Linked DNA regions of Homo sapiens: region 2 is linked to region 1. Evidence: promoter capture Hi-C in 16 types of primary human blood cells and fetal thymus (Javierre and others, 2016). All regions are on one chromosome and are shown on one strand. The core of a region is centred on a gene start or on the middle of the fragment in contact, and the rest is flanking DNA. Distances in the headings are between cores, read along the strand shown.

Region 1 (5,112 bases), core at 1,687-4,186:
GGCTGGGACCTCCTGTCAGTCCTCATGGAGGGTTGGCTTCCCCAGTGGTGGGGCATAGGTGTGCCTGTGCGTGTGCATAGGGTGCGGGCCATGATAAGGTGCACTGTTGCGCTCTCGCCTGTGGGCGCGGATTTCCCGACCAAGCACCCACTGGTGCCCAGGCGTGGGGGGTCGTCTTCTGCCAGAACAGGGAGCACTTCCTCCCCTCCGGGCTCATGGCGGTCGCTTCGGGCCTTCAGCCCCCCTCTTCTAGAGAGTCCCACAGGGGCTGGTTATTAACTCATTAATTATTCATCATTATTCTAATCACTATTTACCGTCCCCAGGGCCGCAGCGCCCGCACTGAAGAATACAGAGTGGGAGCTGCGCAGTCCCCTCCCCCTCTGAAACCCGCACGAATTAGTTACACACTGGCCCCCTCCACCTCCTCCCAGATACCCTGCATGGACCAAGCACACCTACTCGATGTCATATACAGATAGACACCGCTCTACTCTCACATCGCACTCCGCACTCACACACACTCCCTGACACACATACATATTCTTTCACTCCATGAGGACGCACACTCACTCCCTTTCCCCGGGTTCCTGGGGCAGCCCGGCTGGGATGAGATCCCAAAGCAGGTCTCGGGGCAGGTAGATGCTGCCGCGGTACCAGGCTCCTGCAGGCCTGAAGCTCCTGGGTCGCCACCACCCCCTTCATGCTGGACATCCAGAGGTCACCACTCAGCCCCAACCTCCCTCTGCAGCCTGTGCAGCTCTGGCACCTTCTCCCACCTACCCCACACCTGCGGCCTCTAGTTCCCACTATGTGTGAAATTTTGGTGCTAGAGCTTAGTCCTTGGGGCTATTCCCCGAAAACAGAGGCAACAGTGACTCCAACTGCCCACAAGGGCAGGGAACTGTGGAACCTGGATACTGAGAGATTGCTAGGGAGGGTGTGGGGCCTACAAGACCAGGCCAGGGCCCAAGGCTATTCTACCTGTCCCTTGCCTCTTTCCTCCCCCAAATCCATTCATTCCAGCCACCTGGCTGGCCCTTGAGCTGCCAAGCCACAGACTCTGCTGAGGGCAAGGCCGTTCTAGGCCCCCAGCCCTGGGGTGAGCAACAGAACAGCTGATCGGCAGGTGAAGTGAGCAGGCAAATGTTTTCTTCCTTTTATACCTTTTCCTCAAACATCCAACCCGAATGCCCTCAACATGAGAACAGCTGCTGACTTCCTATTGCCTGAGACATGGATTCCATTCTAATTCGAAGGAGCCTAGACTCCAGTTAGCTGGTCCAATGCAAGGCTGAGAGACCCAAAGGCCAGGGGGGCTGCCGCAGAAGAAAGGATAGCCCAAGACAGGACGAGAAAAGAAGCGAGTTGGCAGGGCGAGACACCAAAGACATCTGGTGTTGCCCATAGTTGCAATGTGAGGTCACAGCTGCAGAGACACTCAGGTTTAAGTCCTGAGTTCTAATTCTAACACCATTCCTACACTCCGTGAGGCCCTAGGCAGAAGGTTTTCCTTCTCTGGCCCCCAATTTCCTCTGTGGGTAAATGAAGTCATCTATCGTTCTTGGCAGCCTCGCGTTCCTGGATTCAGTGACGCTGTTTCGGGGAATAATCTCAGGTTGTGGGATGAGTGCAGGGAGATCTAGAGAGCGACCAGTCTGAGCTGGGTTGGGGAGAGGGGCATCTCACCTGTCCGTTCTTCATGAGGTCGGCCCACATGCTGGTGCCGTCGCCGCCGCGCATGAGCACGTGGTAAGCGAAGAAGTAGACGCCTGGCATGGGGCAAGTAAACTTGCCGCTGGCTGCCTCGTAGGCGTTGCCCACGTTGGTCACCACGTCGTCGAAGCGCAGCACCTCGTAACCCTCGTGGGGCCGCCGCAGGCCCGCGTAGAAAGCAATGCGAGGCACGTAGCCGGCAGCGGGCGCCACCCCGCCCGGACCTGGACCGGGAGGGCCCGGGGGGCCTGGCCTGCCGGGTTCTCCTGGGGGCCCTCTTGGACCTGGTGGTCCAGGGGGCCCCCGCAGGCCTGCTTTCCCGCGCCGGCCCACCTCTCCCTTGGCGCCTGGCGGGAAGGGGGGCACGGAAGCAGGCGCGCCGTCGGGACCAGGGCCACGGGGCCCATGCGGGTCGCACACCATGCGGCAGCGACCCAGCATCTCGTAGTGCGCTGGCCCGCGGGAGCTGTGCACCAGCAGCGGGATGGCCACCAGCAGCAGCAGCACCATGGCCACTCCGACGGCCGCGCCCGCCACCCTCTTGCGGCGGCTCAGCCGCGACGCTGCCAGGGCCAGCAAATCTTCCTCACTCTTGGGCGCAATGGCTGCCGGGGCCGGGGCTCTCCGCGGGCCAGGAGGCGGTGACCCGCCTTGGGCCTGGGTCTGCACTCCCCCGACGGCTGCCCCCCGCTCCCCTTACCCTGCCTCTGCGGGCTCCAGCCGCGGCGGTGCCGCTCCCCAAGCCGTCCGTCAAGGGGAGGCCCCTCGTGGGTTACGTCAGGGGCAGCTCCCGACGGTCCAGAGCCAGTGGTCCTCTAGTACCCTCCCGTTCAGTCCTAACGATCCTGGGCACCTGAGATCCGCGGCTTCTCGGACGGCTGGTTTCTTAGGGATCTGAGATGCCTGCTCTCCAGACTGCTGCTCTCTCAGGGATGGCGCGGTGCCTGGGTCCCAGACTGCCCAGATAGACCACTCCCTGATGGAGAGGGGACTGCTCCCCGCGCTCCGGACGTCCCGGGCTCTGAGCTGCGGGTGCTGCTCACCGGGCGCGATCTCCTAGTAGGTTTTGCGCTCTGCCTCTTGGCAAGCACCGACTCACCTTGCTACCCCTGCCGCGGCCCCAGTCCCTGCTAGAGCCCTGGCCCGCGCCTCTCTCCTGCGGGCGCGGTCCCTCTCCGCCTCCCTAACCTTCCTCCCCTCCCTCCCGGGCGCGGGTGGTATGAGGCGCCGCGCGGCGGGAGCCACTATAAGCGGCCAGAGGCGGAGCGACCCCTGGTGCCCAGAGTGGGAAGTGCGGGGGCGGGGCAGGCAGCGGCCCCCACCCACGTCCTCCCCGCCTCCCCTCCACTCCCCCACTGCCCCTAGGTTCCTTCCCGGCTCTGAGCGGGTTCTTCAGGGTTTCGCGGCCCCCGCTGTATCTTTACTTTTACCCTTTACCCGGAGTTTGGCATTCTCAGAGGCCAGAGGAAACCCAAAACAGCGATGGGATAAAGAGGGGTCAAGATACAAACACGCAGAGAAGACAGGGGTAGATTCCCGAGCTAAAATGAGGGGGAGGGACCTCACAAACAAACAGAAAACAAAATAAGAAGGGCTAGAAAAGATAGAAATTCACCACCCCACGCACCTCAGCGCCCGTGACCGAATAACATGGTAAAGGATTCAACTGATACTAGTTGGCCTGAACTGGAAAAGGCAAATCTCTAGCCAACCCTACCCCCACCCCTCAGTATTGGGGCGCGGAGCGGAGTGTGTGTGTGTGTGTGTGTGTGTGTGTGTGTGTGTGTGTTTGTGTGGAGAGAGAGAGAGAGAGAGAGAGAGAGAGAAAATAAGAGAACAGATCAGCCCGGGGGAGCAAGCAAGAAACCGACAAGAAAGCAGAGAAGGAGCGACAGAAATCAAAGAGAAGGAAAGCTAGATAGAGATGCAGAGACAGAGACAAAGCTTCGAAAAGAGACGGACTGACAGCCCCAGAGGGGGAGAGGGAGAGACAGAGACAGAGGAAGAGAGACAGAGCCGGGACAGGTTGACAGATCGAGAGAGAAATGTAAATGGCGCGCTGCAGAGAGACACCCAGGTCCGTGTTTGGACTCCAATGTGACATATCAACTGTGGGGAAGATGCGGGGGCAGGGCGGCTCTGCCAGCAGTGCTAGGCTCTGGGCCTGTGCATTGTGACAGTGTGCTCCAAAGTGTGGAGGTGGCCATGGGATCCTGGCCCTGTGTGTCCCTGGGTGAGTGCGATTGTGGATTGTGTGTTGTCTTTGTGTATGTATATGTGAGGGCTGTTTGAAGGGAGGTATTTGTATTTGTCTTCCTCCTAGTCCCTCAATTTGGAGCCCACAAATGCCATTTTTCCTACCTTGGGACTGAGAATGAAGGACTCTACTGGACAGAGAGGAAGTCAGAAGACAGCTGTCTTCTCATTTGCCCTGCCCAGCTCAGCCCAATGCCACCCCTGCCCTGGTCCCAGACTTATCCAGTCCCAGGAGTCTCTGCCCCTTCCTCCTTCTTCAAGAGTTTGTTGTTAGATGAAACCCAGAGAAGTTGGATCCCACATAATGGGTATTTGGGTGGGGGTTGAAGTTGGCCATGCAAATTAATGTAAGTAAAATGCAGATTAGGTGCTAGGCACCCTCCTGTAAGAGGGGACTGTATCTGTCTTTCCGAGCGGCCAAGACATTGCTAGACACAGGCATTGCTAGATCAGAGTCCAGAGAAAAAGCTACTGGCTGCATCCTCTCTTAGGGCCTGGGCCTTCTGGGGAAAATGTCTTGCTCACAGGGACCCCAGAGGCTAGGAAAACAGGTTCTAGGACTGGTAAAAAGTGGGGGCATTTGGAGACCCTGGAGGTGAGCAGCTGCAAAGGCCTCTTAGAGACCAGGATAAGCCAGGACTATCATGTATGGGAGAACATTGTGTAAGATGGAGGGCACAGGGCACACCAGGGCATGATTATTGGATGGAGAGTGATTTCCTCCTCTCTTGTTTTCTGTACTCCTTCCTTGCACCCCCGACCCCCGCCTCATAATGATGCTGGGAGAGAGAGGTTCCTAAGGCTGGGCCTGTGTTGGGGGTTGGGGGAGGCCCCTACATGTCTGCAAGGAGTGGGAGAGAAAGGATTGGCAGTCAGTGGGGGAGGGGCCTCCTCCTCCAACCATAAATACAAATTTTATTCAAGGTCTTTGTCGCCATTTGTCTTCCTCGGGGGGCTGAGGGCCGTGTCAGCCCTCTGCATGTCTAATTCCGGATCTGCTCCCCCAGGCTGGATGATGGATGGATCAGAGAGCAGGCCCAGGCTCACACCAGCCTCCCCTGCCTGATCCTCAGGCCCCATCCACCCCAGGTCCTGACTCCTCTCCCTCCCTTTTCCCTCCCTCCACTCACCAGAGACCCC
Region 2 (5,112 bases), core at 1,430-3,929, 270 kb before region 1:
GGCAATCAGGCTGGTGGGAGGGTGGGGATCAAGAAAAGCAGAGGCAAACAGGACCAAACTTTCCTAGCTGAAATATCAATTCATTGAGGCGGTAGGCCCATAAAAGCAGAACCAATAGCCTTTGACACCTAAAAAAAAGTAGCACACCACCAAAGGTGTAAAAAGTACAAAAAGATTAAAGGTATGAAAACAGCAAAGAACGGCCATTTTAATGGAAGACACTGGGGACATGGAGGGCCAGGGGACTGATATGCACCGGAGGCATTATTTCTTACTTTACTCAACACTCTTGGGAAGTCAAAGTCTTCACAACACTTTAGTCTCTGCCTCTACACTCCTTCTCAATTCTTACATCATTAGGAATGAGGGGCTTCCTTTCTTCTCCTGAAACCCCATCATCTTTGAATCCAAGCAAATGCCGAGGCCCCAGGAAGACAGCTAGGTCAGCATGTTGCAGTTGGCCACTAGAGGGTGGTGTTTCTGTAATTAAGGGGATCTTGAAAGGCTACAAAACTTGGATGGGAGTGGCAGCCAACTGGACTTAGTATATGAGGAACCCAGCAGAATAGAAAGGTGGGAAAGGCAAGTAGTAAATCTTAGGATAATGGTCCTTAATAAGTGAGGAATAAGGAATAGGAACAAGGTAGGAGGAAAGATATCCCACCAAAGACCACAGCCATCACTCCTTGGAAAAAGAGATCTTGGCTCTGAGCTCTCACTAGATACATAGAAGTCAACAATAAAATAAGGCCGGGGGCAGTGGCTCACGCCTGTAATCCCAGCACTTTGGGAGGCTGAGGTGGGTGGATCACTTAAGGTCAGGAGTTCGAGACCATCCTGGCCTAGGTGAAACCTCATCTCTACTAAAAATAAAAAAGTTAGCTAGGCATGGTGGCGGGTGCCTGCAGAAGACTGAGGCAGGAGAACTGCTTGAACCTGGGAGGCGGAGGTTGCAGCGAGCCAAGATTGCAGCACTGCACCACTCCAGCCTGGGCAACAGAGTGAAACTCCGTCTCACACACACACACGAAAAAGAAGTCAACAACAAAAGATTTCTCAATTTATTTGCATATATACATTGTCACCCCAGGGAGCCAGCTCTATTTCAGAAGTCCCCGGCTCCCCTTACCCAGCCAACACCCAAAACCCACCCAAGAGGATGGGTCCTGGATAAATAATGCCCAGGACTCATATCCTGACCCCATAGGTTATAACAGAATTCATCAAACAAAAACAGAGGGCTAGAGGCCAGTGTCCATGAGAGGTCCTTGCCCCTTTGTAAACATTGACATCCAGGCCACTGGAGCCTGGGGAAAGTGTGCAAACATGAGGATGCCACACTGTGTGTCCAGGGGCCAGGAACACAGCTGGCAACCATACCCGTGAAGTCCTGAGGATCTGCCCCCCACTGGAACATGGCAAGTGCCGGGGGCAGAAGCAAGGCAGTTACCCCACACCCAAGGGCTCACATGAGATGGCAGCGACGCTCTTGCCCATAGGAATTCTCCACACGGGCAATCTCCTGGATGACTTTGGTGAAGATGCCTTGAGTCAGCTATAAGAGGAGAGGATTCAGGGCAAAAGTCAGTTCAGTGCCAATACCACCCAGCTCTGGGGTGAAAGCCCCATTCCCGCAACATTCCCACCACCAAGCAGTACAATAAGGAAAACACAGCTACCATCACCACCCTTCTAGTCTTCAGGCCCAGCACCTGATTCTCTCGAGCAGATGACTCCATAAATGTCGCACCCCAGGACTCTGCCAGCTTCTTTCCTTCAACTGCCTGTACCTCTCTGGAAGCAAATTTGGGACATAAAGATGGAGGATAGAAATGTCAGTAAGTGCTCTGAAAAATCTTCAGAATCAAGACTTCCTGGCCAGGCACAGTGGCTCATGCCTGTAATGCAGCACTTTGGGAGGCCGAGGTGGTGGATCACTTGAGCTCAGGAGTTCAAGACCAGCCTGGACAACACAGGGAAACACCATCTCTATTAAAAAAAAAATGGGCCACACGCGGTTGCTTGTGCCTGTAATCCCGATACTTTGGGAGGCCTAGGCGGGTGGATCACAAGGTCAGGAGATCGAGACCATCCTGGCTAACATGGTGAAACCCCGTCTCTACTAAAAATACAAAAAATTAGCTGGGCGTGGTGGCACGCGCCTGTAGTCCCAGCTACTTGGGAAGCTGAGGCAGGAGACTCGCTTGAACCCGGGAGGCAGAGGTTGCAGTGAGCCGAGATCACACCACTGCACTCCAGCCTGGGCAACAGAGCAAGACTCCGTCTAAAAAAAAAAAAAATAGAGAAGAAAAAGACTTTCTCTGACCCATGCCATTTCCCCAAGTTTTGGGAGGAGGGCTGTGGAAGGAGAAAATATAGGTAAACAAAGGAACAATGGGTGAATCTAGGACTGAGGCTTGAAATATGAAATTGTGGCTTTTAAGATAGAAGTATTATCTTCCTTAAGCTTCAGGTTAGAGACAAAGAGAGGTGAAATGACTTGTTTGAGTCAGTGGAAGAGCCAGGATGAGAGCCTGACTGATTCCCAGTCCATTTCACTTCCTTTTGCTCTGAGTAGCAGAGATTTACATACCTCTCTGGAGAGAGATCTGCCTTGTTCCCCACTAGAACCACTGGCACCCTGTGAGGAAACAGCAGTTACTTCAGAATCCCCTCATTCCCCGCATTCCCCAACTCCTTACATCAAGGCTGGACGACTCCTTATCAGACCAGGCAGGATCTATATCCGAGCCTCCTCTCTAACTTGACAATTCTCCCCTCTGCTCTCTCCCACCCCCTCATGCCCACACTATGTCCCTATCCCCCAGGGCCACTTACCGGGTTTTCCCATGGCCTTCATGTAGCTTTTGGTACAGACTCTCAATGACTTGGAAGCTTTAAACACAAGAATTGGAGCTATAACTTTATGAGACAGTCCTCAGGTTCTCCCAAGTCCCGCACTCACAACCTTGGTCACTTACCTATGCAGAGAGGTGACAGAATACACAAGCACATAACCATGGACCCCAATGATGAATGAATAGGGCAGAATGCTGTACTCATCCTGGCAAGAAATGGGAAACATCAGTACCTAGATCCAAACCACTAAGATGGCAAAGGTTGGTGGGACAACATCCAGGTGACCCTCCCTGGGGCACGCCCTACTATAGTCACTTCAACATGTATTTATGGAACAGCTCCAATGAGCCCTGCATACTGTTAGCAGGTAAAATGCTTTTAATACTACTTTACGGATGAGCCACAAAGACTACCAGACTTCATCTCCGAGGGCTGAACTGCCACATTTGGATACCATACCCCAACTGGTACCTGCCCTGCTGTGTCCACCAGATGTAGGTGAAACTCATCTTTGCCAAGAGTCACTATCTTGCTGTAAGCTGAAAAGAAAAGAAAACTTGACTGTGAAGTGCCTTATAGGACCAGCGATGTATGTCCCCTGACTTTTTTTTTTTTTTTTTTTTGAGACAAGAGTCTCACTCTATTGTCCAGGCTGGGCTGCAGTGGCATGATCTCAGCTCACTGCAACCTCTGCCACCCGGGTTCAAGCTATTCTCCTGCCTCAGCCTCCCGAGTAGCTGGGATTACAGGGACCTGCCACCATGCCCGGCTAATTACATTTTTTTTTTTTGAGATGAGGTCTTGCTATGTTGCCCAGGCTGTAGAGCAGTGGCTATTCACAGGCGCACTCTTAGCACCCTATAGCCTGGAACTCCTGGGCTCAAGCAATCCTGTCACCTCAGCCTCCCAAGTAGCTGGAACTACAGGTGTGCACCTCTGCACCTGGCTGTCTCCTTACCTTTTTTTTTTTTTTTGGCAGCATTTTTTAAAGTAGATTATTGGTTGGGCGCAGTGGCTCACACCTGTAATCCCAGCACTTTGGGAGGCCAGGGCAGGCGGATCACTTAAGACCAAGAGTTTGAGACCAGCCTGGCCAACATGGTGAAACCCTGTCTCTACTAAAAATACAAAAAATTAGTTGGGCATGGTGGTGCATGCCTGTAGTCCCAGCTACTCAGGAGGGTGAAGCGTGAGAATTGCTTGAACCCAGGAGGTGGAGGTTGCAGTGAGCTGAGATTGCGGCACTGCACTCCAGCCTGGGTGACAGAGCGAGACTGTCTTGAAAAGAAAAGAAAAATAAAGTAATTACTTTTGTTTTATTGATGAATAATAGATGTACCAAGTTTCAGGGTACATGTGACAATTTAATACATTCATATAATTTGTAAAGATCAAATAAGTGTATCTGGAATATTCATCACCTTAAATATTTGGCTTTTCTTTATGCTAGAACCATTTGAATTCTTCTCTTCTAGCTATTTTGAAATGTAAAATAGCTTATTGTAAGCTATAGTCACCCTACTGATCTACTAAGTCTTATTTCTTCTATCAAACTATATATTTGTACCCATTGATCAATTTATCTTCATCCCTCCCACTCCCTTCCCCCTTACATTCTTTTTATTCTTTTTTTTTTTTCTTTTTTTTCTTGAGACATTGCTTCACTCTTGTTGCCCAGGCTAGAGCGCAGTGGCACGATCTCGGCTCACTGCAACCTCCGCCTCCCAGGTTCAAGCAATTCTCCTGCCTCAGCCTCCCGAGTAGATGGGATTACAGATGTCCATCACCATGTCCGGCTAATTTTTTGTATTTTTAGTAGAGACGGGGTTTCACCATGTTGGCCAGGCTGGTCTCGAACTCTTGACCTCAGGTGATCCACCTGCCTTGGCCTCCCAAAGAACTGGGATTACAGGCATAAGCCACGGTGCCCAGCTTTTTTTTTTTTTTTTTTTTTTTTTTGAGACAGTCTCACCCTGACACCCAGGCTGGTGTGCAGTGGCACGACCTTGGCTCACTGCCACTTTTGCCTCCTGGGTTCAAGCGATTCTCCTACCTCAGTCTCCTTTGTAGCTGGGATTACAGGCGTGCGCCACCATGCCCAGCTAATTTTGGTATTTTTAGTAGAGATGAGGTTTCACCATGTTGGCCAGGTTGGTCTCGAAATCCAGACCTCAATCCATCCGCCCGCCTCAGCTTCCCAAAGTGCTGGGATTACAGGCATGAGCCACTGCGCCCAGCCTCCCCTTACATTCT

The links. The method cuts DNA at HindIII sites, captures the fragments that hold promoters and counts their contacts. A CHiCAGO score of 5 or more calls a contact.
Region 2: a fragment that was not itself captured here is called in contact with the fragment with the promoter of C1QL4 in region 1 in 1 of 17 cell types (M2 macrophages); the score reaches 5.4 in M2 macrophages.

Annotation. Positions count from the first base shown.
Region 1 is chr12:49,334,252-49,339,363 of GRCh38, forward strand. It overlaps C1QL4 (complement C1q like 4), which reads right to left and starts at 2,937. Exons shown (of 2, transcript NM_001008223.2): 1 at 1,690-2,937. The coding sequence starts at 2,226. RefSeq lists an enhancer at 1,533-2,332 and a silencer at 2,701-3,110. The HindIII fragment of the contact is 8,443 bases long and covers 1-3,658 here.
Region 2 is chr12:49,063,638-49,068,749 of GRCh38, forward strand. It overlaps RHEBL1 (RHEB like 1), which reads right to left. Exons shown (of 8, transcript NM_144593.3): 3 at 3,331-3,398; 4 at 2,982-3,064; 5 at 2,839-2,895; 6 at 2,594-2,641; 7 at 1,713-1,794; 8 at 1,039-1,555. The coding sequence ends at 1,466. Among named protein-coding and RNA genes, the nearest start is that of RHEBL1, 3.8 kb to the right of the region's middle. The HindIII fragment of the contact is 428 bases long and covers 2,466-2,893 here.